Regions from separate parts of the Homo sapiens genome. Here region 1 is linked to region 2. Evidence: promoter capture Hi-C in human tissues and cell types (Jung and others, 2019). All regions are on one chromosome and are shown on one strand. The core of a region is centred on a gene start or on the middle of the fragment in contact, and the rest is flanking DNA. Distances in the headings are between cores, read along the strand shown. Region 1 holds the start of OR2AT4 (olfactory receptor family 2 subfamily AT member 4). Region 2 holds the start of XRRA1 (X-ray radiation resistance associated 1).

Region 1 (6,685 bases), core at 1,854-4,353, 150 kb before region 2:
TAGATTCCCTGACTTTCAGAAGTGTGGGTACTGGCTCAAAGCTGTGATTAAACAATTAAGTATGTTTCTTTGTTTGTTTTTTGAGGTTTTTGGGAAACAGAGTCTCACTCTGTTGCCCAGGCTGGAGCGCAGTGGTGTAATCTCGGCTCACTGCAACCTCCACCTCTTGAGTTCAAGCAATTCTCATGCCTCAGCCTCCTGAGTAGCTGGGACCACGGGTGCACACCACCACGCCCAGCTAATTTTTTTTTTTTTTTTTTGTATTTTCGTAGAGACGGGGTTTCAGCTATGTTGCCCAGGCTGTTCTCAAACTCCTGAGCTCAGGCAATCCACCCACGTTGGCCTCCCAAAGTGCTGAGATTACGGGTGTGAGCCACCATGCCCAGCCAGTTAAGCATGTTTTAAACAAGTTCTGATCATTGTTACTATGGCTATAGAAAAGCCAGTCATTTCCTAGCAGGATGAGGAGAGTTTTATTCTTAGAGGTAATAAAAGAAATCCTATTTTATCCCATAATGTTATAAAAGTAAGTCTTAGAATGTTGGCTTTTTATACAAAGAAATCTCAGCCAACAGTTTTACTCTCTATTTTGGTTCATTCTCTTTAGTAAAACAAAATAGGAAATCCAAAAGGATTCTAAATTTTAGTTTTTGTTTGTTTTCTCCTACTTATTGCAATTCTCTTAACTGTTGCACTCCATATGGGTTATTTCAGCCCAAGTGCCCAAGTCTTTTAGTTACTTTCATACATAACATCTCGAAAGCCTTAAGTCATTCTTATGCCGCCAAAAGATGGCTTTTTAAGGCTTATTAGGGATCTCATCACGTCTAAGAAATGGAAAACAGAACAAAAGAATCCACCTAACCACCTGGTGATTTTGCAGGATTCTTTGCCTTTAACTTAAGAGAGCTTAGTCTTCTCCCCCAGAAACATCTTTAGCACTTACCTTTATGGCACCAAAGCGAAGATCCACATAAATTTATCCCAAACCAAAATTCTTCTCTTTAGCAAGTAGTGAGTAGATCCAGACAGGAGGAGACAGCACATACAGTTCTGCTTGTGATTCAAAGAAACTTCCCAAACCATCTTTAGCTCCATCATGAAGTTTATCAGGTCAGGAGAGGGCTGTAACCTCTGTTGTACCATGTTTTCATTTCCATCGTGTTCTGTACTCAGCTGCTAAGGACTTAGTAACCTCCCAGTCTGCAGTTGAAAGTCTACAGTCTGCAGAGGTCTAATAGGGAAGTCTCTTCTGCAGGCTGAAATGAACCCTTCATGCATGGGTTTTCCCCTGGTCCTGGGCAGAAGCATCAGGCCGGGTGTAACAGGGTCATCTCAGTCATCACTGTGACTCAGCATCCTCAAAGCTTCTGGGTTTGAAGCTGGGATAGTCCCTGCACATGCACACCCCATTCCATTTGAAAATGTGCTGACTGCTTGGCCCAGAAGTTCTACTTCTAAGGATCTGTCTATCTCCGAGAAATATTTGAGCACATGTGACCCCAAATGCATGTTAAAAGGAAATTAATTATAATAGTTTTCATAATAGCAAGAATGAGATAGAACTTAAATGTTCATCAACAGATGAGTTATTAGACAAACTATGTTGTATCTGTACTACAAAATGCCAAATATCAGATACAAAAAAATGAAGTAGATCAGACACAGAAAAATTCCTAGACTTATTAAATTAAAATATGCTATACAATAAATACAGAATGATTCAATTTACATTAAAAGAAAAGCAAAACCATACACACATACACAAACACATGCGCTTAGAAAAGTCTGGAAGAAACACACCAAATCAGTAATAATGTTTACTTCTGGAGCATGGAGGAAAAATGTGGGTAAGAATTGGTGTGAAGAAGACTAACTAACTCTTCTTTCTTTTCTTTCTTCCTTCCTTTCTTTCTGACAGGATCTCACTCCATTGTTAAGACTGGAGGAAAAATATGGGTAAGAATTGGTGTGAAAAAAAACTTTCTCTCTCTTTCTCTCCCTCCCCTCCCTCCCTTCCCTTCCCTCCCTTCCTCCCTTCCCTCCCTCCCTCCCTTCCCCCACTCCCTTCCCTCCCTTCCTCCCTTCCCTCCCTCCCTTCCCCCACTCCCTTCCCTCCCTCCCTCCCTTCCCCCACTCCCTTCCCTCCCTTCCCCCCTTCCCCCCTTCCACCACTCCCTTCCTTCCTGGGTCTCACTCCATTGCTAAGGCTAGAGTGCAGAGGCACAGCTGTGGCTCACTGCAGCCTGAACTTCCCAGGCTCAGGTGTTTCTCCTGCCTCAGCTTCCCTGGTAGCTGATGGGTCCGGAATTGGTGGGTTCTTGGTCTCACTGACTTCAAGAATGAAGCCACGGACCCTCGCGGTGAGTGTTACAGCTCTTAAGGTGGCGCGTCTGGAGTTTGTTCCTTCTGACGTTCGGATGTGTTGGGAGTTTCTTCCTTCTGGTGGGTTGGTGGTCTCACTGGCTCAGGAGTGAAGCTGCAGACCTTCGCGGGGAGTGTTACAGTTCTTAAGGCGGCGCATCTGGAGTTGTTCGTTTCTCCCGGTGGGCTAGTGGTCTCACTGGCTTCAGGAGTGAAGCTGCAGACCTTCGTGGTGTTACATCTCTTAAGGCAGCGCATCTGGAGTTGTTCGTTCCTCCTGGTGGGCTTGTGGTCTCGCTGGCTTCAGGAGTGAAGCTGCAGACCTTCGCGGTGAGTGTTACAGCTCATAAAAGCAGTGTGGACCCAAAGAGTGAGCAGTAGCAAGGTTTATTGCAAAGAGCGAAAGATCAAAGCTTCCATAGTGTGGAAGGGGACCTGAGCGGGTTGCCACTGCTGGCTCGCGCAGCCTGCTTTTATTCTCTTACCTGGCTCCACCCACATCCTGCTGATTGGTAGAGCCCAGTGGTCTGTTTTGACAGGGCGCTGATTGGTGCGTTTACAATCCCTGAGCTAGACACAAAGATTCTCCAAGGCCCCACCAGAGCAGCTAGATACAGAGTGTCCATTGGTGCATTCGCAAACCCTGAGCTAGACACAGGGTGCTGATTGGTGTGTTTACAAACCTTGAGTTAGATACAGAGTGCCGATTGGTGTATTTACAATCCCTGAGCTAGACATAAAGGTTCTCCACGTCCCCACCAGACTCAGGAGCCCAGCTGGCTTCACCCAGTGGGTCCCGCACCGGGGCTGCAGGTGGAGCTGCCTGCCAGTCCCGGAGCCATGCGCCCACACTCCTCGGCCCTTGGGTGGTCGATGGGACTGGGTGCTGTGGAGCACGGGGCAGCACTCATCGGGGAGGCGGGGGCCGCACAGGAGCCCAGGGAGGGGGTGGGAGACTCAGGCATGGCGGGCTGCAGGTCCCGAGCCCTGCCCCGCGGGAAGGCAGCTAAGGCCCAGAGAGAAATCGAGCACAGCGCCAGTGGGCTGGCACTGCTGGGGGACCCAGTACACCCTCCACAGCCGCTGGCCCGGGTGCTAAGCCTCTTATTGCCTGGGGACAGCAGGGCCGGCCGGCTGCTCTGAGTGTGGGGTCCGCCAAGCCCACGCCCACCCAGAACTCCAGCTGGCCTGCAAGCGCAGGCGCAGCCCTGGTTCCCACTCGCGCCTCTCTCTCCACACCTCCCTGCAAGCTGAGGGAGCCGGCTCCGGCCTTGGCCAGCCCAGAAAGGGGCTCCCACAGTGCAGCGGTGGGCTGAAGGGCTCCTCAAGTGCCGCCAAAGTGGGAGCCCAGGCAGAGGAGGCACCGAGAGCGAGCGAGGGCTGTGAGGACTGCCAGCACGCTGTCACCTCTCACTGAGACTACAGGTGCATGCCACCATGCCCAGCTAATTTTTTTGTATTTTTCAGTAGAGATAGAGTTTTGCCAGTTGTCCAAGCTGCTCTCTTACTCCTGGACTCAAGAGATCCTCCCCCTTCGGCCCGGCAAAGTGCTGGGATTACAGGCGTGAGCCACCACACCCGGCCTAGAACTTTCACTTTTGACTCAGTAAAGCTCTGTATTGATTAAAATGTTCTACAATGAGGTTCTGTTTATTACTTGTGAAATTAAAAAAAAATTAAAATTTTATGAGTATTAGTAGGAGTGACCAAGTCAGTCAAGTCAGAAACAGAACACTGGAGCCAAAGGAGAGAATCAGAAAGATTGAGGCAGGAAGAGTCTGTGACTCTTGACTTTGTCCTGTATGGGGTTGGGGCAGAGACTTCCACCCTCACATTCTTTCCACAAAACCTTTGCAAGTTCTCATTGCACAGCAGCGGAAGTATCACATACTCATTGAACAAGGCTTTACTGCTTTGGTCCATTAAAATAATAGCTCCCACTTATTGAATGCCTAATAAGTGGCAGGAACTGGGTGAAGCACCTCAACCTGCCCAGTTATCCTGTGAGAGAGTTAGTGTCGTTATACCCATTCCACAGATGACAAAATGAAGACCCAGTGAGGTTAAGGGATTTGTTCAAAGTCATATTACTGGGAATAACTCGGGTCTTAGTCATTAGATAACATGTTGCTGAACCACTGAACCAGAATTGGAGCCTTGGGTACAAATCCCAGCTCTGCCACCAGCCACTCATATGACCTTGGGCAAGTCACCTCACTTCTCTAGATCTCAGTTTCCTCAAATGTAAAATAGTGGAAATAATCCTGACTCTGCCTGTCTTCCCTGGCTATTGTGAGGACCAGATGGGAAAACAGGAATAATACTGGTGATAAAGTTCTGGGACCCATGAGGGTTGTTAATGATGTTGTTTTCATTATCAGCAAAGCCCAGAACAAAGTCCCCCACTCCACCCTCGGAAGTTGTTCTCAGCTGACTGGCAGTTATCTGGTCCCACGGGTGAGCCTTCTTGTGGGGAGAGAGCCCCAGCAGGCCTGGTTGCAGAGAGGGGCCCGAGGGTTTAAAGGGCCATGGTTGAGTTTCTACCTGGCTCTTCCCAACCAAGGCCAACTGTGACGACTCTACACAAGACATCAAGGCGGACCAGGATTGGTAGGTGAGCTGGGCTGGGGATGGAGTGCGCAGAGCAGGCAGAGACTGGGATGGGGAGATAGGCTCAGGGAGGTTGGGGGCATGTACAACCACAGTAAAGATCCTGGGAATGTCAGGGTCCCAGGATCCAAGTCAACCACGCAGTCAGCCTGGGTGAGTGTAGACCAGACACCCTCGCAGGCAGGGGCAGGGCTGTGCAGTCACAAGCAAGAGGCTAATGATCTTGGAAGAGAATTCCTCACAAGGAGGCAAAGCTGATGACGATAAGAGAAATGGGAATAATTTGTGAGGGAATTGCAGTCCATTGGAGGAAAGCACAAAGTGGTGGAGCCAGGAAGGAAACTCAGGCCTTTCTAACTGCAAAGTTAATAGACCTAGATTCTGTGCTTCACGTATATCCTGCTCCTTTTCTATGGAAACAGTGCAGGATGGTGAGAATATCATGAGAGAACTGCATGAGTTTGGGCGTCGTAATGATGTGTAATGACTGTAAAGAATCAAGCAGGCAACAGAAGCTTAACAAATGAGAGCGCCCTTGCTCTCCTTCCTAAGAGGCTGAGGCCATGACACATCTGTCTTCGAATCTCTCATTTATCTAAACACAGAGTAGATACTCAAAATATTTATCAAGCTGGAGATCATTGCTTCCAAAGTCCTCATTTTATAGATGGGAAAACTGAGGCTCAGAGACCCAGCATCACAGCAAGAGAGTGGCAGAGCTGGTCCAGGAGAGCTCAAGGTGAGTTGATAATCTAGCTCTGTTGACAGTCTAGTTCTAGTTCTATCACCCACTTACTGTGTGACCTTGGGAAAGTCACAGCCCATTTCTGGGACTCCCTTTTCTGTCCCCATCTATATAATAAAGAGGTTAGGTGAAATGCCAGCACTTTGGGAGGCCGAGGCGGGCAGATCACTTGAGATCAGGACTTCAAGACCAGCCTGGCCAACATGGTGAAACACCATCTCTACTAAAAATACAAAAATTAGCCGGACATGGTGGCAAGCGCCTGTAATCCCAGCTACTCGGGAGGTTGAGGCATGAGAATCGCTTGAACCCGGGAGGCAGAGGTTGCAGTGAGCCGAGATCGTGCCACTGCACTCCAGCCTGGGTGATAGAGCAAGACTCAATCTCAAAAAAAAAAAAAAAAAAGAGGTTAGGTGAAAACTATTTAATCACTAATGGCCCCTTCATTCCTATTTGATGATTTATCAGCAAAACAAGGCAAGTTGGAAAGCTGCATTCCAGAGCACTAAGCTCCTGGGAAGGATGGTGCAGTATCAAATAGAAACGATCAGACCCCATTACTGCTCTGAAAGTGCTCCTGGTGTGGTGGACACATAAATAGACAGAGACAACCTGGTGTAATCATAATAATGACAAACAGAAGCACAGGAACTTCAAGAGCCCAGGAAAGAGGCTCCTGAGCCAGCCAGGACCATAGAAGATCTCTTGGAGGAAGTAATATTTGAGCTGAATTTGGCAGAAGCACAAGGCAAGAGCAAGGAGTTGCCATTTGACTAGAATAAGGAGAAACAAGGCTGCAAGAAGACAGGCTTTGAATAGCAGGCTAAGGAATCATCCTCTCTCATGAAACATCCTACAAAGACTGGGTGGGAGCCAGGACACCGGCTTTAAAACCTACTTCTGCTATGAATTTGTTGGTTGACCTTGAAAAGACACTATTTCTGGACTTCAGACTCAGCATCTGTC
Region 2 (7,424 bases), core at 3,444-5,943:
ATGTATTTGGGGCAAAATAACATACTGCAATGATCTAAGTCAAGTTATTCTGTGATGGAGGCGGAAAGATTATATTTGCATACTTATTTTTAAGATCAGGAAACAAGAATTGCTGTGTTCTTAAAGTCAGTTTCATAAGAGTAGAAATTCACATCTGCTTAGGGAAAACTAGGAGCATATTTGCATCTCTTTATTACACTTCTTTATGGCAAGTGAAACTACAGCTGCAGAAATAAAATAAAAACCCTCCCCGCCCAAATCAAGACACATCAAATTAAATAAATTATATTAGGCTGGGTGTGGTGGCGCACGCTTGTAAACCCCGCACTTTGGGAGGCCGAGGCCGTTGGATCACCTGAGGTCAGGAGTTTGAGACCAGCCTGGCCAACATGGTGAAACCCTGTCTCTACTAAATATACAAAAATTAGCCGGGTATGGAGGCACATGCCTGTAATCCCAGCTACTCGGGAGACTGAGGCAGGAGAATTGTTTGAACCTGGGAGGCGGGGGTTGCAGTGAGTGGAGATTGCGACAAATCGAGACTCTGTCTCAAAAAAAAAAAAAAATTATATTAAAGGTAATAGCTTCTCATTCCCACACAGCAAAAGCCTCTCTATTCATTCAGATCCTGCTCCACTGAGAATAACATTTTTTTCCCCAAGTTCTCTCCCACAGTACCCTCAGTCTTCAAACAATTAGAGGCACCATCCTCTAAAGCTGTTTCTGAAGACTGAGGTGGCAGATCTCAAGTTTTTTCTCTGCGAAATTCAATGCTAAAAGTACTTATCTTGTGTTGATCACTACAGAGAAGCACTCACAGGAAAACGGGCAAATACAAATTGGTGAAATAATACAAGACAGTATGTCATATTAAGTGACAGCTTAATTCCCATGTGCAGTGTAAGTGCTAGAGGAATTCAGGGAGGGAACAGTTCAATGTAAGGCTGAAACTAAGTTTTCCAAGAAAAGGCACTCAAGCAGCTCTTGACTATTCTCTTCTGTCCCTCACTTATTGGTTAAATCTTCCAAGCACTCTTTTGTGAGACCTTTTATCTATTTCTGCTACTCATGTTGGGGTTCTCATCACCTTGTCATTCTATTTTTTACCACAGACAGCCCTTTACAAAGAACATTTACTTCTAGTAGATTCCAAAGGACAGGGAACAGAGCTGGGTGCGGTGGCTCATGCCTGTAATTCCAGTACTTTGGGAGGCTGAGGTGGGCAGATCACTTGAGGCCAGGAGTTCACGATTAGTCTGGGCAACACAGTGAGACCTTGTCTCTACCAAAAATAAAAATAAAAATAAAATAAAAAGGGCAGAGGAAACCAAACTAAAAAACCCAAAGAACATTTACCAGCACTATACAATTTGATCCTTACAACAAGCCTATAATATGTATGAATGTCCACAATATTTACATAAGGAAATTTAAATTCAGTAATATCACACAACTTATCCAAGGTCATGTGGCTTTTATTAGGTAGGTGCAAAAGTTATCGTGGTTTTTGCCATTACTTTCAATGGCAAAAACAGCAATTACTTTTGCACCAACCTAATAACATGCGGCACTAGAACTCAAATTTGTCTCTTTTTATTATATATTATACACTACTGTGTATACGGCCTTATTAAGAAGTCTTCTAATTTCTGTCTCTCCAAACCATCTGAATAGTTTTCCTAAAAACCACTTTACACAGTCTCAAAACCCTTCAACAGCTTTCCTCTACTTCAAGCAATCCACGGCCTCCCTAATCAGATGCTATCTACTTGTCACTACAGTTCCTTTAGAGAGCCTTCTAGTCAACTCAATACCTGAGAAACATAAAACACCATCACATCTGTGTAACTTTACTCAAGGAGACTTTTTTACCTGGCATGTCTTTCTTTTCTCCCCCCAAATAAGGTGCCAGTTCCACTTTCAGGAATGAGGCCTTTCCTTCAGGCTCTTACTCTTTTTTTTTTTTTTTTTTTGAGACAGAGTTTCCCTCTTGTTGCCCAGGCTGGACTGCAATGGCGTGATCTCGGCTCACTGCAACCTCCACCTCCCGGGTTCAAGCGATTCTCCTGCCTCAGCCTCCCGAGTAGGTGGGATTACAGGCATGCACCACCACACTTCGCTAATTTTGTATTTTTAGTAGAGATGGGGTTTCTCCATCTTGGTCTGGCTGGTCTTGAACTTCCGACCTCAGGTGATCCGCCTGCCTTGGCCTCTCAAAGTGCTGGGTTTACAGGTGTGAGCCACTGCGCCCGGCCGAGGCTCTTACTCTTATCAATAAGCTCGCAGGGTTCACTCTATTTCTCTCATTTGAACTTCCGTAACAAGTACACACTTGAGCGAATATACCATATACTTCCTTAAATAGATTCAATTACCCCATCTCCTATATTTGGCTATTCTGAGTGCTCTCTGACAGTAGGATTCTTGATTTACTCCTCCACCATCACACATCTGTACTGGACACTACAGGTAATGGAGATCATTAATGTGTACTGTCTTACTTGGTTCTTCCCAAAACCCTGTGATCTAGGTGCCAGAGATTCCAAAATTCCAAATGAAGAAAGGTTAAGTGACTTGCCAATCTTCATACTGTTAGCAAGTAGCAGAAATACTTCAAAGCTGAAATCTTATGATCCCCACATCCGGGTTCTTTCAATAACACAATGGTGCCATATACACTATTCCATAATAATAGTATTCTATACTGCCTTAGCAGAATGCCCATACTTAATGTTTGCTGATGATGATCCAAGTGCAAGGAAGAGCAAGAGCAGTTAGTGGGGCAGGTAAGCACAGGCTATGAGGTGCTTACCTAGCAAGAGGGAAGGATTTGTGTACACAAATGACCATCAATTCCCCATACTCTCACATGTCTTGAAGCAATTTACCATCCCAACCTCCAGAATATGTTTCTGTATCTTAAGGTTTGAGTGTGAGGCCAGGTGCATGGTGACTTATGCCTGTAATCCCAGCACTTTGGGGAGCCAAGGTGGGAGGATCTCTTGAGGCCCAGGAATTTGAGACCAGCCAGGGCAACACAGTAAGACCCTGACTCTACAGAAAAGTTAAAAGCAAAAAAATTAGTCAGGCATAGTGGTGCACATTTGCAGTCCCAGCTACTCAGGAAGCTGGGGTGGGAAGATCACCTAAGCTTAAGAGTTCAAGGCCGCAGTGAGCTAAGATCCATTCTGGGCAATGGAGCGTGACCCCTCTCACAAGAGAAGAGTGTGAGAACCATGTCTTTCAAAACCAATGACACTCAAAAAGACAAGTAAAAAGACCTGGATCTTAACCCCTCAACATAATCATGTTTTCATTTCTTAAGCACCTACCATGTGTTATGCACAGGGAAGTCTGAAAGCTGTTTTCAATTATATTCAAAAATTCTGCTTACTATATTAAAGACACCATGCTTAACAATTCTCATCAAACCAGCCCAGGGCCCTACAATGAGAGAACTGGAAGGGAATTTAGAGTTAAGTCCCTCATTTTAAGGCTAAATCTCTCACTTTGCAGATGAGAAAACAGATATAGAGAGAGCAAGCATATTTCAAGGTCACAAAGCTAATTAGAGGCAAAATCAACACCAGGACGTTGTTCTCCGTGCAACTGTTTCTTCCAAGATGCTGTGCAAAGAGCAAGAAAGGCCAACCCAGGGACAGTTTTCCTTTTTTTCTTTTCTTTTAAACCCTTGTTGCTAGGACTGCAGTTAAAAAAAATTTTTTTGGATGAGCAGAGGGAGGAAAGGGGCAAGCGTGAGCGGGCAGCAGTGCACTTGGTAGCAAAGAGGGAGGTGGAGGGAAGAGAGGAGAGGGCGGGGAAAAACAACAGGAAAAAAAGAAAAATCTTAAAGGCTTCTTGTCAGCCCAGTAGAACAGTCAATACTCAAATATTTTCAGTATTCGCCTATCATGATAAAACGCCTAAAAACTTCAGTAAGCAAAAGGACAAGAAGCACTTTGGAATCTGTAGCAGCACGCAAGGGTGATGGTGGTAGAGAGTTTGGGGGATACTGATTCTTTAATCTTTGGGCTTCGGTTTTCCGTGTCTGTGAAATGGGCACTGACAACAGTGCACCCAGCCCCCCAGGAGAAAAGAGATGGACACGATTAAATATAGGAAAAATCAAATTACCGAAAAAGGTGTGGCGACCAGGACCAGAACACTTGCGAGAAAAGAAGAAGTTCTAAAGAGGACCGGGTCCAGGTTTGAAGTGTGATGAGGGCAAGGGCAGGCTCCAAGCGTGCGTAGGGTTGTGATAGTGGTCACACAAGGGCTCCCCTCAAAAGGCCGTAGAAAATAAGGGAGACCGGGATGGGAAGGTTGGCTCGCCGCCTCCCAGGCCTCCCCAGGATTCAACTGTTCCCAAGAACCGGCTCCTCACCTTATCCAACAAGCCGCTACGGCCACTTCCTGTCCCGCAGTTGGAAGCACCACCAGCCCCACTACAGCCTCCGCTACCACCGCTTCTCCCGCCCTGTACAGCTGCCGCCGCCATCTTGTCCGCCTCTGCGTCTCCCTCCCCTCCGACTTGTCTGAAGCCGATTGGCTGGAGCTGACAGCGTGACGCGCCGCGCGGAGTCAATCGGGATCCGTAGTTTGGGTCTTGCTGGCGCGAGGTAGTCAGAGGACGTGGCCGCGGGGCTTGCTGGGACTTGAGGTTAGACGTCCCGGCCGTCGGTTGCCGCCTACACTGTCTGCCGTCGCGTCGCAGTTACTAAGGCGTGGGGAAGATAGCGGCAGGCACCGCAGTGGAGCGGCTCCGAGATCCCCGGGGGGCTCGCAGGCGCGCATCCCTCCTGACTGGGACGTCGCCTCCGCAGACCCCTCGGAGGCTGAAGCGACGCCGGAGGCAGGTGCGACTGAAACTTAGTTTTCGAATTCGAGTCTTTCTCCGGCCCAGGTGTGGAGTTTCCAAAGGAGTGGGCAGGAGCTTGTCCTTCATCCTTTTCTAGCCCGGTTGTGGCACTTACCGATTATTCTCTCAAGCAGCTGTCATTTTAGCTGTTTGTAATGTTTTCGTGTTAACGGAGAACTCGCGTTTACTGAGTGCCTACAGTCTGCCAGGCAGTATCCTATGTGCACTTCCAGCCATCCTCTCTCTCACTGAGTCCCACAACAGCCCTGTTAGATGAGGAGGAAACTAAAGAACCTACCCAAAGCCAGATAGCATGTATCTGAACTCGGTTTTCAAGCCGGCATTTAAAAAAAATCAAAACCAATATATATCCCTTCTGACACTCTGCTTTTACGGTTTTAGGATGTAATAGTATTCTAGATTTTAATTATTTTTTTCACAAATGTATATTGAGCACCAATATTGTACTAACGGATACAGGGGATCAAGATAGACCTGGTTGCTACTCTGGTGGACTACTACTCCATGACAGAGTTATCAAATAGCAGTATTGTATTATACCATGCTCTATTACGTTGTATTTTAATTAATTTTTTTCACAAATGTATATTGAGCACCAATATTGTACTAACGGATACAGGGGATCAAGATAGACCTGGTTGCTACTCTGGTGGAACTACTACTCCATGACAGAGTTATCAAATAGCAGTATTGTATTATACCATGCTCTATTACGTTGTATTGTTTTTTAATTCCTATATATCCCCCATAAGCGTCTAAAGAATTAAACAAATATTTTTGAGTTTCTTACTATGTAACAGGCACTATTCTAGTCACCAGGGATATATCCCTGAATAAAACAGACAAAAACTTGTCTTGGGGAAGCCAAAATTCATGTGAAAATAATTATCTCGGCCGGGCGTGGGGGCTCATGGTTGTAATCCCCGCCAAGGCAGGCGGATCACCTGAGGTCAGGAGTTAAAGACCAGCCTGGCCAACATGGTGAAACCCCGTCTCTACTAAAAATACAAAAATGAGCCGGGCGTGGTAGCGGGCACCTGTAATCCCAGCTACTTGGGAGGCTGAGGCAGGAGAATTGCTTGAACCGGGGAGGCGGAGGTTGCAGTGAGCCGAGATCAGAAAGAAAAGAAAATAATTATCACTAAATAACTAAATTATTACTAAAAAGAAAATAAATATCACTAAATAGCAATAACATCAGATGATATTTCATTACCTCTGTGAAGCAATCCGTGGACACTAGTCAGATCCCCTGTAGCTTGTTGTTGCAGTTTATCTTTTACAACTTCTCATTTTTCTTTTATTTAAAATAAAGTGAGATGATACAGCATTGCCCTAGTCACTTTTTATTTTATTTTTTATTTTTTGAGACAGAGTCTCACTCTGTCACCCAGGCTGGAGTGCAGTGGTGGGATCTTGGCTCACTGCAACCTCTGCCTCCTGGGTTCAAGCAGTTCTTGTGCCTCAGCCTCCCAAGCTGTAGTCTTTGTAGCTGGGACTACAGGCACATGCCACCACACCTGGCTAATTTTTATATTTTTAGTAGAGACAGGATTTCGCCGTGTTGGACAGCCTAGTCTTGAACTCATGACCTCAAGTGATCCGTCTGCTTCGGCCTCCCAAAGTGCTGGGATTACAGGCATGAACCACCACACCAGGCCAACTTCTCATCTTTCAAGATCCAGCTTTAATGTCACCTACCCTGTGAAACTATTTCTGATACTTGCTTCTTCTTTCTTCACCCACTGCATGAAGTGCTCCTGTGGCATTTTGTTCATGGGTTGGGTTAGTTCAATTAACAATCATTGAGACTCTTCCTTCAGTAGGCCAGGTCCTGTGTGAGATGCAGGATAAAGAGATAAGTACAGGCTCACGCCTGTAATCCCAGCACTTTGGGAGGCCGAGGCGGGCGGATCACGAGGTCAGGAGATCAAGACCATCATGGCTAACATGTTGAAACCCCGTCTCTACTAAAAATACAAAAAATTACCCAGGCATGGTGGCGGGCGCCTGTAGTCCCAGCTTCTAGGGAGGCTGAGGCAGGAGAATGGCGTGAGCCCGGGAGGCGGAGCTTGCAGTGAGCTGAGATAGCGACACTGCACTCCAGCCTGGGTGACAGAGCAAGACTCCGTCTCAAAAAAAAAAAAAAAGAAAAAGAGGTAAGTAGGACCCAGGCCTGACCTGACCTTGGAGATACTCACAGCCTGTAGTGAGGTGGGGAACAAACAAGGAAGCAGGCATTATAATACAGTGTGGTATAGTGCCTGTATTAGTCCATTTTCACACTGCTATAAAGAACTGCTCAAGACTGGGTAATTTATAAAGGAAAGAGGTTTAATTGACTCACGGTTCTGCATGGCTGGGGAGGCCTCAGGAAATTTACAATCATGGCGGAAAGGGAAGAGGCAAGTCTTACATGGCAACAGGCAAGAGAGGGCAAGAGTGTGAAGGAGGAACTGTCAGTTATAAAACCATCAGATCTCGTGAGAGCTCACTCACTATGGTGAGGACAGCATGGGGGACCACCTCCTTGATCCAATCACTT

Evidence for each region. Contacts are between HindIII fragments. The study calls those that stand out against the background at their distance.
Region 1: a contact is called between a fragment that was not itself captured here and the fragment with the promoter of XRRA1 in region 2, in 2 of the 25 tissues and cell types used here (liver and mesenchymal stem cells).

What each region holds. Positions count from the first base shown.
Region 1 is chr11:75,095,117-75,101,801 of GRCh38, reverse strand. It overlaps OR2AT4 (olfactory receptor family 2 subfamily AT member 4), which reads left to right and starts at 4,926. Exons shown (of 2, transcript NM_001405852.1): 1 at 4,926-4,974. It also overlaps the pseudogene LOC100421207. RefSeq lists enhancers at 1,058-1,127, 1,398-1,467, 743-1,942 and a cis regulatory region at 4,552-5,067. The HindIII fragment of the contact is 2,061 bases long and covers 2,073-4,133 here.
Region 2 is chr11:74,946,360-74,953,783 of GRCh38, reverse strand. XRRA1 (X-ray radiation resistance associated 1) reads left to right here and starts at 4,693. Exons shown (of 19, transcript NM_001378157.1): 1 at 4,693-4,856. It overlaps SPCS2 (signal peptidase complex subunit 2), which reads right to left and starts at 4,518. Exons shown (of 5, transcript NM_014752.3): 1 at 4,385-4,518. The coding sequence starts at 4,498. RefSeq lists enhancers at 4,264-4,313, 3,616-4,470, 4,394-4,613, 4,744-4,803, 4,924-4,973 and 1 more. The HindIII fragment of the contact is 13,977 bases long and covers 29-7,424 here.